Linked DNA regions of Homo sapiens: regions 1, 2, 3, 4, 6 and 7 are each linked to region 5. The links are contacts of gene promoters, found by promoter capture Hi-C in blood cells and fetal thymus (Javierre and others, 2016). All regions are on one chromosome and are shown on one strand. The core of a region is centred on a gene start or on the middle of the fragment in contact, and the rest is flanking DNA. Distances in the headings are between cores, read along the strand shown. Region 1 overlaps LOC105373454 (a long non-coding RNA gene). Region 2 overlaps LOC105373454 (a long non-coding RNA gene). Region 3 overlaps LOC105373454 (a long non-coding RNA gene). Region 4 holds the start of PUM2 (pumilio RNA binding family member 2). Region 5 holds the start of OSR1 (odd-skipped related transcription factor 1). Region 6 overlaps LOC105373454 (a long non-coding RNA gene). Region 7 overlaps LOC105373454 (a long non-coding RNA gene).

Region 1 (2,700 bases), core at 168-2,667, 890 kb after region 5:
ACTGGTATCCTCTGTCATATGGATCCTGGCCAAGAAGATGTAGTTGCTTGTACAATAAATATGAGGGAATTATAACATATAAACCAGGCAAATTGGATGTTGCCTCTTTTTAATTTTTCTACTGTTATTCCGTATGCTTAGCAAAGTCTTGTTTAAATCTTGAATATCAGCCATGCTATTAGAAAGTAAAGAAGGGTATGTGAGTCATGATCCTTCTTTCAGCAAATGCCAAAACTCTAACTCACCCCATAAATGGAAAATTCGGAGATGGGGCTGAAGGCACCGCTGGATCCAGAGGCTTTAACTAAGTTATTAAAATCTGTTTTAATAACTTTTTTATTAAATTATAAATAATTTTATAGTTATTGATATGGTTCAGCTGGTCCCCACCCAAATCTCATCTTGAGTTGTAGCTCTCATAATTCCCACCTGTTGTGGGAGGGACCCAGTGGGAGATAATTGAACCATGGGGACAATTTCCCCAATACTATTCTCATGGTAGTGAATAAGTCTCACGAGATCTGATGGTTTTATAAGGGGAAACCCCTTTCACTTGACTCTCATTCTGTCTTGTCTACTGTGATGTAAGATGTGCCTCTTGCCTCCTGCCATGATTGTAAGGCCTGATGAGCCATGTGAAACTATGAGTCCATTAAACCTCTCTTTCTTTACAAATTACCCAGTCTCTGGTATGTCTTTATCAGCAACGTGAAAATGGACTAATACACTTATGTATTTGTTTATTTTTACTTTATCCAGCAATTTTTCTTTTTATATTACTAAAGACAATAATCATAGAAGCGCTTAGAGAAAAAGTCGTATTTAGCTTTCAAGCCATTTAGGACAATGGCAGTTTCCAAGTGGTATGACCATGCTTCTCCCTTGAAAGCAGTAAGTTACTTAGAGAATACCTTAGAAAATGTTTGGATATTCCCTATAGGAACATTGTTCTTATAGGAAGAAGACCTTGCACACTGACTCCTAGCAGTATACGGCACTCTTTCCTAACAGACCACCCCCTTAGTATAGCAAGAGGGTTTTGTATAATGTGATCTAATTCACATCACAGTTTTCAGTAGTATGACTGTGTTATTATTGAATTATTAAAGGAAATATAGTGGTCTTGGTAAAAGATACTTTAAGCAAATACATGGAAGGTAGATTGCTGATTTAACAGAACAAAAATTAGTGTCTATATTATGACCTCAGACCAGCTAAGGACTCTAGAGAACAATGAACACCCCTAAGTAATCTTTCCTAGAATGTCTGGGAGATATCCAGGCTTCGGTGTCATGAGGTTAGAACAGAAAGCTTGTGTCATGAGGTTAGAACAGAAAGCTTGGCCGATGTTCTGAATTCATATTGATGGATTGTGAATGGCATGTTCTCCACAGAGACCTTCTTTGTAATTAAATAATCTTCTCTTTCTATTCTTGTATCTTCAAGAGATCATTGAGTAATTTACTCCCATGGACTCAATTGATCTTCAAGCTTTCTGGAGCAAATATTTTACATTTACTTGTGATTAATGTCCTTTTGTTCACACATTAAGGATGACATTTATTTATCTAAAATTTTTCCTCTCTTTTATGTAAATGTAGAAGTGCAGCCTCCTTGACTAGACAATCGCACATCTGAAAATTCTTTGTTTTGTTTTGTTAGAGACAGGCTTTCACTCTGTTTCCCCATGCTGGAGTGCAGTAGTGGTATGATCATAGCTCACAGCAGCCTGGAACTCCTGGGCTAAAGCCATCCTTCTGCCTCAGCTTTCTGAGTAGTTGGGATTGCAGGTGTGTGCCACCACAACAGGCTAATTTTTAACACATTTTTGTAGAGATCGGGTCTCACAATGTTTCCCAGGCCAGTCTTGAGCTCCTGGCCTCAAGAAATCCTCCAGCCTTGACCTCCCAAAGCTCTGGTATTACAGGTGTGTGAGCCATTGCACTTGGCCCGGAACATTTTTGAAGGCCAAATAATTGGAAGCATTTCACAGCTCTGCCTCATAGGTTAAAATGCCCTTTTTATCTGGGCATGGATTTCATTATTGTCCTTAAATTTATAAACAATATGCAAGGCTGGCTGGCAAGGTGGCCAAATAGGAACAGCTCCAGTCTGGAGCTCCCAGCGAGATCAATGCTGAAAGCAGGTGATTTCTGCATTCCTAACTGAGGTAACTGGCTCATCTCACTGGGACTGGTTAGACAGTGGGTGCAGCCCACAGAGGGCAAGCAGAAGCAGGGTGGGGCATCACCTCACCTGGGAAGCGCAAAGGGTCGGGAAACTTCCTCCCCTAGTCAAGGGAAGCCATGAGGGACAACGCCGTGAGGAACAGTGCATTCCGGCCCAGATACTGTGCTTTTCCCATGGTCTTCACAACCCACAGGAAAGGAGATTCCCTCTGGTACCTACACCACCAGGGCCCTGGGTTTCAAGCACGAAACTGGACCACAGCTTGGGAAAGCCGCTGTAGCCAGACTGCCTCTCTAGATTCCTCCTCTTTGGGCAGGGCATCTCTGAAACAAAGGCAGCAGCCCCAGTCAGGGGCTTATAGATAAAACTCCCATCTCCCTGGGACAGAGCACCTGGGGGAACAGGGTACAGCTTCAGCAGACTTAAACATTTCTGCCTGCCAGCTGTGAAGAGTGCAGCGGATCTCCCAGCACAGCGCTCAAACTCTGCTAAGGGACAGACTGCCTCCTC
Region 2 (2,700 bases), core at 105-2,604, 960 kb after region 5:
TGAAAGTCTTAAATTGTCTGTGACTTCTGGGTCAGAGGAACCGTATCCTATCCATCCCCTCCCGGCCAACCGCACCAGGCCGGGTGCCCAGCACATGGAAGTTGTTGTATAAAATCTCATTAGCTGATTGATTCTTTCAGTGGTTCTCTCTAATTCCATCAGCAAGCTGGCAGAGGACCAGGTTTCATAGTTTAAGCCTTGATCAGCCTAAGATGAGACTATGTTTTACCAGCCCCAAGAACGTGATATAGGAACACCTGTGTCTGAACTCCTAGTTCAATGCTGATCAATAACTCCCTGAGTCAGGCATTTCTGATGCACAAAGAGCAACTTTCTAAACCAAAAACATCTCAGATTACTGGCTTTGCCACCAATTCTATTTTGCCTGTATAGATCTTCCTTAAATAATAGAGGCGTCTTTTTTTATGTCTGTAACTCTGCAAGCATTGTTTAAAAAACTCTACTTATAAGTATATAATTTAAAAAAGTTAAAGAATTTTCAGCATTTCTTCACAACAGCGGCTTTCAAACTCCAGGGTGAATCTGAATCACCTGGGGACTTGTTAAAGCACTGGTGTGCACCCGCCACTCCAGTTTTGGACTCAGTATTTCTGAGATGGGGCCTGATAATTTGTATTTCTAAAGAGTCTCAAGGCAATGAGGATGCTGCTGCTTACACGTTGAAAATCACTGCCCTATCCTAACACTTTTACTTCAAAATTTTTTTCCCAAGCACTTGTCTGCATGTTATTTTCCATAGTTATTATCCTAGTATATGAAATTTGTGCATTTTAATTTTTTTCTGAATTATAAAGAGTCTTCCCCCTGTCACCAAATAAAAGGACCTGTTGGAGTTTGGGGATAAGATGTCCCAAGAGGCACAATAAGAATTACTTAACTCTTCTACAAGGTGGAGCATTATTAAGAAAAATTTTTTTTTAACTTTTAGTTCAGGGAGGGGTACATGTGCAGGTTTTGTTATATAGGTAAACTTGTGTAATGGAGGTTTGATGTACAGATTATTTTGTCACCCAAACACTAAGCCTAGTATCTAATAGTTATTTTTTTTCTTCTCCTTTCTCTCCTCCCACCCTTCATCTTCTGGTAGGCACCAGTGTCTGTTGTTCCCCTCTATGTGTCCATGTGTCCTCATCATTTAGCTCCCACTTATGACAACATGCCGTATTTGGTTTTCTGTTCCTGCATTAGTTTGCTAAGAATAACGGCCTCTAGTTCCATCCACGTTTCTGCAAAGACATGATTTCATTCTTTTTTATGACTGCATCGTATTCCATAGTGTACATGAACCATGCTTGCTTTATCCAATCTGTCATTGATGGGCATTTAGGTTGATCCCATATCTTTGCTATTGTGAATAGTGCTGCAATGAACATATGCATGCATGCATCTTTATAGTAGAATGTTTTATATTATCTGGGTATATACCCAGTAATAAGAATGCTGAGTTGAATGGTAGTTCTGTTTTTAGCTCTTTAAGGAATCAAAACACTGCTTTCCAGAATGGTTGAACTAATTTGCAATTCCACCAACATTGTGTAAGTGTTCTGTTTTCTTCACAGCCTCTCCAGCTTGTTATTTTTTGACTTTTTCATAATAATCATTCTGACTGATGTGAGATGATATCTCATTGTGGTTTTGATTTGTATTTCTCTAACCATCAGTGATGTTGAGCTTTTATTCATATGATTTTTGGCCACATATATGTCTTCTTTTGAGAAGTGTCTGTTCATGTCCTTTGCCCACTTTTTGATGGGGTTGTTATTTCCCTTGTAAATTTGTTTAATTTCCTTATAGATACTGGATACTAGACCTTTGTCAGATGCATAGTTTGTGAAAATTTTCTCCCATTCTGTAGGTTTTCTGTTTACTCTTTTGTTAGCTTCTTTTGCTGTGCAGAAACTCTTTAGTTTAATTAGATCTCCATTTGTCAATTTTTGCTTTTGTTGCAATTGCTTTTGGCATCTTTGCCATGAAATCTTTGCTAGGTCCTATGTCTAGAATGATATTGCCTAGTCTTCCAGGGTTTTTGTAGCTTTTGGTTTTACGTTTAAGTCTTTAATCCTTCTTGAGTTGATGTTGTATATGGTGTAAGGAAGAGGTCCAGTTTCAATCTTCTGCACATGGCTAGCCAGTTAACCCAGCACCATTTATTCAATAGGGAGTCCTTTCCCCATTGCTTGTTTTTGTCAGTTTCATATAAGATCAGATTGGTGTAGTTGTGTGGCTTTATTTTTGGGATCTCTATTCTGTTCCATTGGTTTATGTGTTTGTTTTTGTACCAGTACCATGCTGCTTTGGTTACTGTAGCCCTGTAGTATAGTTTGAAATTGGGTAGCATAATGCCTCCTGCTTTGTTATTTTTGCTTAGGATTGCCTGGGTTATTTGGGCTCTTTTTTGTTTCATATGAATTTTGAAGTAGCTTTTTTCTAATTCTGTGAAGAATATCACTGGTAGTTTGATAGGAATAGCATCGAATCTATAAGTTGCTTTGGGCAGTATGGCCATTTTAACGATATTGATTCGTCCCATCTATAAGCATGGAATGTTTTTCCATTTGTGTTTGTATCATCTCTGATTTCTTTGAGCAGTGGTTTATAATTCTCATTGTAAAGATCTTTCACGGCCGGGCGCGGTGGCTCACGCCTGTAATCCCAGCACTTTGGGAGGCCGAGGCGGGC
Region 3 (2,700 bases), core at 19-2,518, 880 kb after region 5:
ATTAAATGATTTCTATTTACAAAACAAGACTTTTTTTTCTGGGTTTTCTATTGACCACTCCACCCTGATTTTAAAATCTAAGGAGAAAATGACCCGTGACTCTGTGATTACCCCTCTCACTGGAGCTCTGTTAGGTTTGCAGAGTCTCTGCCAACTCCTAACATCTGGCACCTGACCTCACTCTTCCAGGATTCAGTTTCCTCATCTGTGATAGTCCCTTTCTGGTCTTGCAAAATGTGTTTCTGTGCCTTTTACAAGAACATGTTGGACTAAAGTTTCCAGGGACATAAACTGTCAGACCTGGATGGGGTGGGGGACCTCATGAGCATCTGGCTCAAGTTTCCTAACGTCCCTTGAGTCTCAGTTCTCTTTGAGAATTTGATGAAAGCGGTGACTGCTGAACCTAGAAAAAGGCACCAGAAGGCACAACGGTGGATGCAATCTCAGGGGTTTCGTGACTCTCCTAAAGCCCCTCTGAGGATCCCAGGCTAGGAACCCTTGGTCTAGGTTCAGAAACCAAGGCCCAGAGAGGGGAAGGCTTGTTCAAGGTCATCCAATAAGTGTGTGAATAAAACTTCAGCTCTTGTTGCACATTTTGCAGCGACTGTCTCTCATACATGCACACATGTCAGCATTACTGTCTGAAAGCATTTTTCATATATATTTTCTTACAGCAGCTCCATAAACTCATCTGAATTGGTATTATTACAAGTGTCTGAAATACATGGAGACCATAAGGACTCTGTAACTTCCCTAAAATTCAACAGTTAGGAGAGAGTACAGGTTGGACTTTAAATCTGGGAGTCCTGATTCAAACACATTTGCTCTCTGCCATGTCACAGTTCTGCAAACAACCTAGTGTAACCTTAGGGAGAGTGAAATAGAGGCAGAAAGTGGCTTGATAAAGAACCACAGGAACAATGCAGGTGGCTGATTAATCCAGACAGGGAGCATCTAGAAAGGCTTCATGGGCCTTGGATGGGATGGTACAAAGGGCAAGGAAGGTTTTGTCTGCCTGGAGGAATAGCATGGGCAACATTATTCCAGGTACAGTAAAAAAAAAGACAGAGACATAACTTCATCATGGGAATATGGAGGTGTGTGGAGAATAGCAGGTTTCCCAGTCAGTGAAGCTGTCAAAATAAACAAATGGAATCATTACTATTCTATCACTTTAGCAAGCACCACCATCAACACCCTAGCGGCTATTCTTCTGTATTTACATGGGGTAAACTAGTTTCCTATCCAGGATCCAAATGCACTTTACATAGTTATTTTCAGGGGGCTAAAGTTTGCTTTAATACTTCTTAGCAGGAGATCACTTGTTTCCTTTTTCTGAAATCTTTCCATACAGTAAGTACTTTATGAGGAGACAGCAATTTATTACAAAGGGTAATGAAGTTTTGTGTATTGAGTCATTCAAGTGTAGCCACCTGCTGGCAAAGATGACATTATATCTAGTTGATCTTCATAAAGTGTAAGAATGCTTCAAATATAAGTGTCTGTAGCTATATGATTGTGACAATTCTAGAGGTCAGCTTACCACAAAAGAGATTTGCCCCTGAGATCCTAGTGCCTGGAAAAGAAAGTTTTAGAATTAAGTGTAGTAAATTTTATAATGGTTGATCTTGTATATGTCCCAACACAATTTACTCAATTCCTCTAGAAGGAAGCATGGAGTTTTCTAGCCAGGAAAAAGCCCTATCTCTGGACACAGGACTCTTTCTCACCTCAGACTGCCTTTTAGGATGGGGGCATCCCATTTCCACCCTAAATACTCCAGAAACCTGTTGTTAGTTTTTAAGTGCACTCTATGCAAACTCATTTGTTTGGTTATTTGGCAATTCATTTATTCATTTCCTCATTTAACAAGTACTTACTGAACATGGCCACATGCCACCTTGGGAACACTTTGATGAGCAAGGTAGATGTGCTCCCTGCCTCCTGGTGCTTACCGTGCACCAGCAGCATTAAGCCCCAGGACTCTCCTGTGGATCTGAGGGCAATGAGGATCTTCTTGTTTCCTGTCTCCATTTTCATAATTTCTAGCCCTATTCTGATCTCCAAACCAGTGCTGGGCTCTAAGTTTGGCAAAGAGGGTCATCTGTCTTTGGAAGGTGTGGATAAGGGCAGAAAATCAGTGGCAGACTTATAAATGTATGAGACATCCTGTCCTCTTCTTCTCCTCAAGGTGACAATCTATCTAATCACCAGGACCCAAGGAAAGCCAGTACAGTTAGTGCTAGAAAAGGAATCCCTTCTTTCAGTGCTGGAATTGACAATATCATTGACCATGTGGTAAGGTAAGCTCCTCCCATCACCTAAAATATCAACTCAGTCTTTCTGGTGCTCTAACCCCTATCTGTTCTTAAGAGCCCAGTTATGTTTCTCACTCCACCAGGCCCCCTTTCCTGACACCCAGCTTTCTCCCAGCTCTCTCCTCTTATGAACTTCTATAGCCTTTGCCTGTGGTCCCCATAGAGATATGCTGCTTGTTTCTTTAGTCAGATTGCCAGATGCTTGTCTAAGGGGTCTTATCCCTTGTTCATATTGGAGAAAAAAAGCATGCAAAAAATTCTCTTTGACTTAAGTGTAAAGCCACTAGACTGTGGCTTCTTTGGAGGAGGCAGACTAACACAGTGCTTAAAAGAGTGATCTCTTGAGTTAGACTGCCTGGGTTCAAATCTTGCAACTATATGA
Region 4 (2,700 bases), core at 56-2,555, 990 kb before region 5:
GGAGTCGGGGTAAGAGGAAGAGACAAGGATGGTTCTCAGAGGTGTAATTTGGGGAATGAATAGGTGGTGACACTGCCAATTACAGAGACAGTACAAGAGTGGGGGGTAGGGGATGGGTGTGACTTCAGTTTTTAACATGCTTGGTGACAAGAAAATTCAAGTGAAAATATCTAGAAGCCTGAAATATGAGCCTAAGGTAGGGGCTTGGGATGGATTTCAATGTCAGACATTTTTCAGTAATAGTTAAAAACCGAAGAGCCCATGTGTATTCAACAGGCACTTGCGGGCACAGTGTGAAACAAAACACAAGGTCCTTGCCCTCGTGGAGCTCACAGTCGCCTAGGGAAGACATATATTAAGCAAACTATACGGGAGGCCCTGAATATTTACGAAGTGCAGCATGTCAGGAGAGCCAGGAGCTGTGCAAACAAACCATCAAGAACAAATCGGACACGGTGCCTGTTACAGCTGTGTGACCTGGAGCCGGTTAGGTTAGAATCCTGGAATCACCACTGCTTTGCATGGGGGTCCAGGACAGCAAGGCAGATTTGGAGTTTCCAACTAGCCTGTAAACGGGGAAGGAGAGAGCGCTTAGTACGCGAGAAAAAGAAACAGCCAACGAGTGAGAATCACTGGCCCAGCTGGAGAACGACCTGAGTTTCCTTTGTGTGCACCGGGACCAAGCACTGGGGGCCGACAATTTGCTGAGAGCTGGCTCCACCTGCCTGGGGTGCAACCACGAGAAGAGTGACAGCCCTCTCGCAGGGTACAATCTTCCACCCCCAGATGCATCTCCCTCGTCTGGTTGTGGGGAGGTACAGAGTGAAAGTTAAAGGCCTGAATTAACGTCCGGCTCTTGTGGGCGCCAGCACTCTGGAAGCGAAATGCCAGGAGTACCCCACGGTGGGCGGCGCGGGCGCAGACACCCGCACACCCAGTTGGGGGAAAACAGTGAGCAACCGGGTAGGAAGCCGAGGGTAAGAAGATTCAGAAGGCGAGGCCCCACGCGGGAAGACAGTCGAACACAGCGTTTGGCAACAGTACGCCTGCGCTCTCCGAGCCCGCCGCGGCGGAGCCCAGGAGGGAAGCGCGAGCCCGCAAGGTGAGGGCGGGGGAGGGCACGCCGGAGAGGCGGCCAAACACGTGAGAGCGCGGAGAACGTGCGCACGCGCAGGGCGCCCCCGGCCCGCGCGGCGGCAGCGCGGGAGCAGGGACGCAAGGCATTAAAAGGAGCCGCGCCTTGGTGAGCGCTCCCCCTCCCCTTTCTCCCGGGGTGCACTGCGCGCGCCCGGTGGGCGGGGGGGAGGGGAGGGCAGGCGGCGGTGGCAGCCATGTTGTTGTGAGTCTCTGTGTCTCACCCTCGGTACTTCGGTGGTTCGGAGGAGGAGGGGGAGGAGAAGGAGGAGGTGGGGTGGGGGGGGAGGGTGGTAGGTGGAGAAAGAAGACATTGCCGCCACCGAAGGCGGAGGAGGGGGAGGACCGCCAAGAGCGACGCCGCCGTGTGCCCAACGGTCGGTGTCCCCGGCTGAGGCAGCGCGGCCGCAGCAGCCCTGTAAGTCAGTCCGCGTTCGCTCTTTCTCCGGTCCTTTGGCGCCGTCGAGGATGGCTCCCCAGGCTTTGTGCGGCGGCCTCGGCGGGAGCCGATCGCCAGCGGGAGGGCGGATAGGGCCTGCTGAGTGCCCGGGCCGGTGCGGCCTGGGGCCCGCTCGCACAATGCAGGGGGAGGGGTGCCGGAAGGGGGTGTGCGCGTGCGGGGGAGGGGGCGCCGCGCCGGCCGCTTTCCCGCTTCCTTCCCTCTGCGGGGCCGCCGCCTCGGGGGCGTGGGGCGCCGACCCGGTTCTCCCTCCGATTCGGCGCGCTGGAGGTTAGAGACCGAGCTGTCGGCCCTAGGGTTCGGAAAGAGGGGAGAGGCCGGGTGGCCCCAGAGAAGCATGCGGATTGCAAGTGGGTGAAGAGGAAGGAGTGGGTTTATGAAAACAAGTGTGGGCATTTTCAAAGGCCCGAGTGTGTCCGGGAAAAGCTTGCCGTGGACAGATGTGGGTATGAAGCAGTGACTTGGATTCGCCTTGTTTAGGTTATAGGAACGGATTTCGATATTCAGAAAAATATGTAAATTAAAACCAAAGACAAGATTAGCGGCTTCTACTATTTGAGCAGTAGTTTTGTATCTGAATTGGGTCAGGTTTTGGGGAAAATGTTTAAAGTTTCATGCCCAAACACGTGTAAAAGTTAGTGTTGTTTCTGAAAACACAGCCAGAGAAAACCTACTTAACTTAGCTTTTTATTCTAACATACGTAAACTTTTGAAGAGAGGAATGTATTGCCAGCATATTAGGTGCAATAAGACATCATGTTAGGACTTAGTACTTTGAGATTTTTACTTGTTGAGAAAACGGGGCAGATGTTTTGGTGAAGGAAAACATGAGAAAAATGCTTGTAAACGGTGAAGAGAAATGTAATACCTGTAAAGGTACTGTATGTCAAGAAAACAATTTTAATAAAGGGAGTTACCGAAGGATTTTAAAAGCTTGTTTAATGGTTAGATTTCGTGTTTAACAGGTGACTCTTCACCATGTGACCTGGAGTATTGGAAGATGACTTAAGGAATCCTGTAAATAAAAAAAAAAAAACAAAAATGAGTATTTTCAACTTGTTTCTCTTCCTAGCCTCCTTTTAAACAATGATTTACTTCATTTGCTC
Region 5 (2,700 bases), core at 66-2,565:
TTCATTACCATCTCCCTAGGTCAGGTATTACAACCTTCTTCACCTCCCAAGAAAATCAGATTAGCTTTGCAAACCAAAGCTGGAGATAGCAGAAGCTCCTCGGGAGAGAAGCAGTACAGTACTTAGGGACCCACGGAATCTAGGATCCAGCTCCAAGAGTCACTCAGCAGCAACTCTGGGGCAAAGGCAGAGAGTGCAGTTGTGTGATCTGGACCCACACAAGTCCCAGGAAACCAGTGACTCCTCCTTGCCAAACCCAAGGCCTGGAAGGGTATTCCAGAAAGGCATTAGGGAGGGATTGGGCTGGGGTCAGCCGGAGGTCAGCTTTCAGAGATGGGTAGTCAAGGGGGTGATGGTACCCTCCATAATGCCTAGGCAATGAAGATAGAATTTTTAATGTCCAGAACTCTGATTCCTTTCCGATTAAAAACTCCACCTGAACCAGCTCCTTGACTCAGAGGCCCTGGAACTGACAACTTTGCAGCTCGTCTAGCTTGCCAGTGCGGCTCTCTAAACTCTGATCCATCCTAAAACAAATATGTAAGTAGAGAGTGCCACTGTGCATTGGGGTGAAATCTCAGAGAGTTCTGGGCCCCAGGAAAATAACTTTCCTGACCTCCTTTCCCTACTCTTTGTTCTTTCTACTGGACTCCAGAACTTAGGGTCTGGGGTCAACCATAAGCACTCAGATGTTACAGCTCGCTTGCTTCGGTGACCCTGGCCCTCCCGCACCAGGAATTAACCAGCGCTGCCTGGGTTAACACCCTGGCCCCGAGCACGCTTGGATAGCCAGGAGCTGCTCCACACTCGGGGTCTGCCGCCTCTGGAAAGAGATTCTGGGAGGAGATGCGACTCTGTCAGGCGCCAAAGTGCGTTGAAACCCAAGCCGCGGTGTGGGGATCCCGGTGCACAGAGCTACTGCCCCTCCCTCCCTCCTCCCAAAGAGCACGGGCTGTGTCCTAGGAGCCCAAGTATAGGACCTCGAAACGTGCGGTGCCAGCCCGCTCTCATCTGCTAGGGACCGTTTCCTCCAGTGCGCCAGGCGTGCCGCTCTGGACCTAAAAAGGCAGCAGGGGTCGCGCGGGACTGAAGAGGAGGGGACGCAGGTTGGGAGAGGCCGGGTCCAAGCGAGAGCAGCTGCCAAAGTCTGCTGCCCGGGTCAGCAAAAACTTTGTCTTTCATTGCGCAGGCGCAGGGCAGGGTTGGGGGGCAGGGGAGGGAGGGGAGGAATCCTGAGGCAAGGGGCGGGGGTGGGGGTGGTGGAGGAGGGAGGGTGGTGGATTAAAATAAGTAGGCGGCTCGGTGCTAAGGGATGAGTGAGTCGGAGCTCGGCCTCTCCCCGGCACGTTCTCAGCTGCTCCTGGTTCAGACCCAGCGAGGGAGCCGCGAGCGAGGCTCACCGTCCCCGGCGTGCAGGATCCGGGGCTGCTGAGCGCTCGCTCCCGCGTGTCCGGCGCTTGGAGTCCCCGCGGCAGGAGAGGAGTCGGGACACTAGAGCTCCAGGGGCGCCTGTGGGCTCCAGGGCCTCCGGCTTCCCCAGTCCCCTTCAGCTAAAGCCCCAGAGACGTGCTCAGCCCCAGGACCTCTGCGGAACAAGGTAATTGCAGTCCTGGGCGCCTGGGCTCAGCAAAGCGAATGCGGGCAGGACTCCCAGGTTCCTTGTCACTGCTCGGCGGGTGCCTCCTCTCTCTCAATGCCCCTGAAGGAAGCTCTTGCCAAACGAATGCTGTAGGACTTTTGTGAAAGTGAGAGCAGGGTGGTTGGGGGTGCTGCCTCAGGACTTCCTGCGCGGGGTCCTCGGCCTCTGACCGCTGGGGATTAAGGGGGGCGGGCCTCCGCTACTGCGGCCAGCCCGCCCGGCTCTGCGGAATCACGGGCGAGGTGCCCACGGACTTTGAAAGTCAATCTGTGGGCCCCCTTTAAGAAACCAGAGCAACTTCAGCGGGCACAAACTTTCCTGAGACGCGCTCCTAGCTCTGGCTGACGCCCAGGTTGACGAAGAAGGAAGGGAGAGGGAGTGAATGGCCACAGCCGCAGCCGACCGCGCCAGGGACAGGTGCATGCCCCAGCTCGGTAGCGCTTTCGTTCAAGTTTGTCTTTTGAGGAGTTGCGCTCTAGTATGAGGCCGCCTAGACCCGAGAGCGCAGGGCTGCGAGTCTGAACCCCGCCTTGCACTCGCGCTCTAACTTAGGGATATTCTCCATAGGATGATTGCTCTGTGTCGTCAAGGCCTGGAGCGGAACCCTTGATTGTCCTGGTGCAGGGAGGCAATGCAGTGGGCGCAAGCACTGCTTTCCAATTCGAGACCCACACACAGCACTAGTGGAAACTCTGTGGAGCCCTAGGGTCTCCGGGCTGGGGACAGGAAAAGTTCTGTTACTCCCCTGACTGTCCGCTAATCCAGCCGTCAGGAGAGAAAGAAGGGGGAAAGGGGTGAAGGGCTGCCTGCTGAACTAATTTCTCCTCGGAAATGTCTCGGAGAAGAATGAAAAACCACGTTTAGTCCTTTTTCAGCAGCTCAGGCAGTAGCGGGTTGGGTTCTCAATGTGTAAAGTAGCCGCAAGGGTTTCTTTGTTGCCACAATTTGGTAAATTTCACCCAGGCTAAGAGCTGCGCATTGGCTCTGCGGAACAAAACCACGTGCAAGGCTAGGTGTCCCAGGTTCACAACCCCCTAGGGAAGAGAAGCGCTGGAGGGGAC
Region 6 (2,700 bases), core at 7-2,506, 930 kb after region 5:
TGAGAATAGATCAGCTCTGGAATGTCTAAGGGAACCAAGGCCATGATTAATGAGGGTCAACTTTAAAACCAGAGCACACACAGATAGGATTACTTCACACAGAGAGCAGAGTCTGTCTGACCCAGGCTACCCTAATGCAATCTCCTGAGGCACATCATTCACAAATCTTGCTGGTTTCAGGGATACACTGACAGTAAAAGAGATACAGAGAGAACTTCCTTTGGCCATAGGGAGACAGGACCAAAGTGCCATAAATGCAATGATGATGGCTATTAAGGCAAGTTGGTAAGTATTTCTAGAAGTTCAAAGTTGAAGTTTTGGTAAAGCACAGTATACTCTTGCAGATGCTAGTCATTGCTGCTACTTTTTTTTTTTACTTGTTTGTTTCTTATTTCTACAGATAAGAGCCTGGAAGCTGTTGTGAGATAGAGTTTCCTGTGGTATGTAAGACACTTAGAAGTGGAAATAGAGTCACAGGACCAGAGAGCCAAAAGAAGGGGGAGACCTGCTCATACTAGATTTCTTAGATGGCCCAGTATGAGTTTACCAAAGGAGAAATAGAAACCACTCACAAGAAATGGCCTTAATCTCTTCAAATAAACAACGAAGGAAAGCTGACCAAGGACAGAGACTCTAAAACACAAGAGGGACCCAAAAGGTATTCAGCAGAAATCCTAGAACACCATTCCTTATTCTCCTTTCCAAAACAGCTAAATGTGTATTTGCTGAAGGCAACTACATGTGTGGAGAACAATAAAATGATGTCTTCTTTCATGGAGCTTATGGAGTTAAAAGACCACAATTAATATATTTAAGCAATTGAGAACAAGAGACAACACTGCATCTGGGCATGGTGGCTCACACCTGTAATCCCAGCACTTTAGGAGACCAAGGCAGGAAGACCGCTTGAAGCTGGAGTTTGAGGCCAAGTTGGGCAAGAAATTGAGACCCTGTCTCTACAAATACATACATACACATATACCTATACATACATATATATATATATATATATATATATATATGAAAATTAGCCAGGCATGATGGCATGTGCCTGTAGTCCTAGCTACTCAAGAGGCTGAGGCTGGAGGATCACTTGAATCCAGGAGTTCAAAAAAGCTGTAGTGACCTACGATCACACCACTACACTCTAGACTGGGTGACAGAGAGTGAGATGCTGTTTCCAAAGAGAGAGAGAGAGAGACAACACTGCATTTGTTATTCAGTCATTGAATAAATATTTGTTAAGCATCTATTGTGTGCTTCGTATTGATCTAGACACTGGGACACAATGGTGAAAACACGGACAAGGTCCCAGTTCTCATGACATTTATATTCTAGTGTCTGTGTGGGGAAGAGATACATAATAAACAAGTAACAATAAATGAAGATGATTTTAGTTGTTAAGAGCAATAAAGAAAATGGAGAAGAGTGGCATGGTTGTGCTTGAATGATAGAGGATGAGTGAGGATGGAGTAATTTAGACTAAAGGATTGGAGGAATTCTCACTGAGAAAGTGATGCTTGAGCTAAGACTGCAAAGATAGACCTGTTAAGATAAACGAGAGTGTTTACAGGCAGGAAAACCATATGCAAGAGCCCTAAGGCTAACAATAACCTTATTTGTTCAGAAAACACAAAGAAAGCCATTGTGGTTGGGGCTTATATTGCAAGGAGGAGAAGGATGGAAGAAATTTTCAGAGAGGTCTATAGGGACATGGTCATATAAAGCCTTTTAGGTCAAGGTAAGGTGCCTCAATTTCATTTCAAGTGCAATGGGAAGACATTGGAGAGTTTTAGGCAAATGATTAACATTGTTCATGTTTGCAAGAGATCATAATTACTGCTCTGCCGAAAATAGATGGTGGAAGGAATGGGATAGAAGGAGGGGGACTAGTTAAGAGATAACACAATTCTTCAAGCAATAAATCATGTTGTTTTGGACAAGGTGCTACTAGTGATGTGGAGAGAATCCAGATATGTTTGGCAGTCGGGCCTACAGAACTTGCTGTGGAATTGAATAGTGGTGCCTTATACTGAGACAAGAGGCCCAGGCAGGAGCTGGCTTAGAAACGCCAACATAGTTTTGGGAGTCTTATGAAATCAGAATTGTGTGATTCTTACTGGTTCTGGTCGTCTGGAAGAGTTTCTAGAAGGTAAACCTGAGTTTGACCTGTCAGGATGGGTAGAATTTGAATACTTAGCGATGTGTTGCTGAGATTGATTTTAGAGTGACTAAAATTCGTTGCTTCATTACTTCACCAACTTCAGTCATTAGTGATTTATTTGGCCACATCAAATGTACTTTTACTGAACATATTTTTAAAAATTGAAGCCTCTTCTTTTTGTTCTTAAATATTTTTTTAAATACACATCATGCCAAGGCACCGATTGGGCTGGAGCTCCTTGAACACTGCACTGAGTTAAACGCCATCAGCCACCCTATTCTTAAAACCAATGCTGTGTGCCTTCGTTAGCACTCACCACCCTGAATCAAACGTTCTGTTGACTTGTCTTTGTCTTTCTCTCCCAATAGATTTTAAGTCCCTTGAGAGAGTGTAGCTAAAATATTTTTGTTTTGGTATTGTTTTAAGGAGATGTGAGACAAAATCATGTCAGTTTCATTACTGCCATCTTCAACCTTGTCTCACTTGGAGGCTGTTAGTGGCAGTGGATCCATAGGGGCCTGCAGGAATCTGAGTTC
Region 7 (2,700 bases), core at 34-2,533, 940 kb after region 5:
TGTGTATTTTCTCTATTTAAAAAATCTTATTGTATGTTGCCATAGCATTTATAACGTCATATTTTATTAGAATAGAAAAATGATAGTATTCTAAAAGGTAAATAGCACTTAACCCAAAGATAATGTTTATAAGAAATTTTCTATGCTAACAAAATTTAGAATTTAACACTAGAAGTCTAGAATCAAACTAATATAATAAATTATCCTATCTTTATTAATAAATGTCTTGTTAATAAATTCAAATTTTTAATGTTGCTCCAATGTGAAGTACTGTCTCTATGGCAGTTCCAGTAGTACTAAGGATTAGCCTTTTAAAAATATTTATAAAATAGCCTACATCTTTAGGAGTCTCATAGCTCAGAGGAGAGGGACAGACAAATTGAAAAATGATTACCACCTAGTATGATCAAACACAAATATATCCTAACTAGAGAGGCAACAAAGAGAGTGCAGGGAAATTTTGAGGGGAGAAGAAGAGCTATTAAATAATTACTTTCAGGGGGCTGCAGTTAGGGTGGGACTGGAAGTTGCTTTTTGTTAAAGCTGCAATTGATATCAGTGTTTGGGTGGTATTTGCTGGACAGTCATTATTTCCAGAACTAGACCTCAAAATAAAAAAAGAGTTTGAAAAACAACAGAATTTTCTCATCTTTCTTAATTCCACTAATATGGCTAAGCACTTATTTTGAAAGAGATACAGAAACATGAGTCACCTGGAATAGGATCCACAGAGTGGACATACCCTCAATGCCCCTTTGCATTTCTTTCTCTGTTCTAACTTAGAAAAAAAAGAAAGAAAGAAAGAAAGAAAGAAAAAGAAAGACCTCAAAATTCTATGATAAGCCACATTTAAACAGTGTCAACTTCAGAAGACATCAGGAGGAAGCTGTGTGTCTCTCTTTTCCTAAACTGGAGGAAACTCACAGGACCCATGACTCATCTCAGACAGTGAAAGCTTCCTGGCAAGCATGCTTGCATTAGAACATGGGAGTGAGAGATGTTGGGATCCCTTGGCTTCCCTTCCCCTCAGTGACAAGCTATCCTCTTGAACTTACTGCATTCAAAGATGTTCTTTCTTATCGTTCATAGAAAATTTTACAACAGCCAAAGAGAAAATGTCTTAGACTCCACATTCATCAATAGTTTGCTTACATGGAAAATTGTATTTTATGAAAGGTGACTCATGTGTTTATGCAAGCATATCTAAGTATTCGTACTGTCCAATGTGGCAGTTAATGATAAATCCTTTGAACAAATGTGTTTTTGCATTTCTACACATGTAACACATAGAGTTGCAACTGAACTAATAATTTACATTTTCAGATGTTTAATCTTTCCTAGCTAATTGACTTCTTGGGCTGGGTCTTGGCTGAAATCTGCAGAGCCAAATTCTCCTACTGCCAAAGCTACTCCCTAGTAGGGTTAGAGACTTTTGGAAGTTGCATTACGATTTCTTCAGGCTTCCAGACTGACTGTTTTGAGAAGGGCTCATAACTACATTAGACAAGGCGATACATCTTTAAATCGGAATATTTTTTGACTTAAAATGAAAACATACATTAAGTTTCTTAAATAATGAACTGAAAATTCTCCTTTAAAAAAGAAGCTTAAAAATTCTTTCTATTCTAATTTGGTTGCTTTGAAATGTAAATACCTTTTTTTTAAAAAAAAACAAGCAAATTCCTTTATAGTACCAAATTACTCACTATGTTCCATGATGACTCATATTAACCCTAGAATCAGGAAAAAGCAATGTAGGATAGTGAAAATATGCATATTTTCATATATTTCTATGTCAAATTCCATTTCTATCACTTACCAACTATGTGTTTTGGGGAAATTTTTTAACCTCTCTGCTTCAACTTCCAAACAAGAAACTAGAAATTATATTTAGTGAGATAATATGTATAAAGAACTTATTTTAAAGCAAATACGTAACAAACAGTAACTATATTGACTTATACTGATAGTTAAAAATGTCATGTTTTAAGCTAATTGGAAAAATCTCAGGTATCAGAAAGCCATTAGGGAATGAGTTGTGTTATAGGGTTCAAACTTTTAAAAAATCATTATTTCAAATATAAATCTTTCTAAAATTGCTTTATATATTTTGTCCCTTCATTAGAATAATCTCATTCATTATAATCTAGTATTTTCTTAATAACTTAAAATTTTAGATTCTGCTATTTTCTAGGCTCTTCTGAGGTTTGCAAGGCGTTGCCCTTGCACTAAGTAACATTACATTGAGATGTAGCATTGTGTTTAACATTATTTTAAAAAATTGTTATTAGTAGTAATGAGACCTGAAAGAGCTATTTTTACTCCTAAAGCAGACAATCTTTCACTGAGAGAATGAAATGGGCATAGGGAAAAGCCTAGATATTACTATATGATGAAATTTAAAAATGTTCCAATTGAAAATATTTTGGGGGAAAGCTGTTCTGTATGTAATGACAGAACAGCTAGAATTTAAAGTTTCCAAAGTTTAAATTACACTCCAATATTTCAATTTAAAGAGAAAGATTATAAGCGAATGGTAATTTCTCTAATTGAGTTACCATAAATATTCCTCCAACAATGACAATATTTTACATTAATGTGCATGTTTATAAACAATACACTAAGTTCTTATTCTATTTAGCCCTATCAAGTTTCTATCTGAAAAATATTTTCTCACATTTTCTACGCAACCATTCCTTA

The links. Contacts are between HindIII fragments. The CHiCAGO score rates a contact against its expected background, and 5 or more counts as called.
Region 1: a contact is called between a fragment that was not itself captured here and the fragment with the promoter of OSR1 in region 5, in 2 of 17 cell types (megakaryocytes and erythroblasts). The highest score is 7.1, in megakaryocytes.
Region 2: a contact is called between a fragment that was not itself captured here and the fragment with the promoter of OSR1 in region 5, in 2 of 17 cell types (megakaryocytes and endothelial precursors). The highest score is 8.8, in megakaryocytes.
Region 3: a fragment that was not itself captured here is called in contact with the fragment with the promoter of OSR1 in region 5 in 1 of 17 cell types (erythroblasts); the score reaches 5.3 in erythroblasts.
Region 4: a contact is called between the fragment with the promoter of PUM2 here and the fragment with the promoter of OSR1 in region 5, in 7 of 17 cell types (activated CD4 T cells, neutrophils, fetal thymus and 4 more). The highest score is 11.5, in activated CD4 T cells.
Region 6: a contact is called between a fragment that was not itself captured here and the fragment with the promoter of OSR1 in region 5, in 2 of 17 cell types (erythroblasts and megakaryocytes). The highest score is 10.3, in erythroblasts.
Region 7: a fragment that was not itself captured here is called in contact with the fragment with the promoter of OSR1 in region 5 in 3 of 17 cell types (megakaryocytes, endothelial precursors and erythroblasts); the score reaches 13.9 in megakaryocytes.

The regions. Positions count from the first base shown.
Region 1 is chr2:18,463,707-18,466,406 of GRCh38, reverse strand. All of the region lies in intron 4 of LOC105373454 (a long non-coding RNA gene), which reads right to left. Among named protein-coding and RNA genes, the nearest start is that of RDH14, 96 kb to the left of the region's middle. The HindIII fragment of the contact is 153 bases long and covers 1,341-1,493 here.
Region 2 is chr2:18,393,202-18,395,901 of GRCh38, reverse strand. The region is part of intron 2 of LOC105373454 (a long non-coding RNA gene); the gene reads right to left. Among named protein-coding and RNA genes, the nearest start is that of RDH14, 170 kb to the left of the region's middle. The HindIII fragment of the contact is 7,094 bases long and covers 1-2,700 here.
Region 3 is chr2:18,481,611-18,484,310 of GRCh38, reverse strand. The region is part of intron 4 of LOC105373454 (a long non-coding RNA gene); the gene reads right to left. Among named protein-coding and RNA genes, the nearest start is that of RDH14, 78 kb to the left of the region's middle. The HindIII fragment of the contact is 5,167 bases long and covers 1-2,700 here.
Region 4 is chr2:20,349,449-20,352,148 of GRCh38, reverse strand. It overlaps PUM2 (pumilio RNA binding family member 2), which reads left to right and starts at 1,305. Exons shown (of 21, transcript NM_015317.5): 1 at 1,305-1,552. RefSeq lists enhancers at 1-575, 783-872, 576-1,207, 1,208-1,837 and a silencer at 1,033-1,922. The HindIII fragment of the contact is 4,637 bases long and covers 1-2,022 here.
Region 5 is chr2:19,357,238-19,359,937 of GRCh38, reverse strand. OSR1 (odd-skipped related transcription factor 1) reads left to right here and starts at 1,315. Exons shown (of 3, transcript NM_145260.3): 1 at 1,315-1,597. RefSeq lists enhancers at 1,443-1,971, 2,637-2,700. The HindIII fragment of the contact is 8,359 bases long and covers 1-2,700 here.
Region 6 is chr2:18,430,118-18,432,817 of GRCh38, reverse strand. The region is part of intron 4 of LOC105373454 (a long non-coding RNA gene); the gene reads right to left. Among named protein-coding and RNA genes, the nearest start is that of RDH14, 130 kb to the left of the region's middle. The HindIII fragment of the contact is 3,082 bases long and covers 1-2,700 here.
Region 7 is chr2:18,412,206-18,414,905 of GRCh38, reverse strand. The region is part of intron 4 of LOC105373454 (a long non-coding RNA gene); the gene reads right to left. Among named protein-coding and RNA genes, the nearest start is that of RDH14, 150 kb to the left of the region's middle. The HindIII fragment of the contact is 651 bases long and covers 958-1,608 here.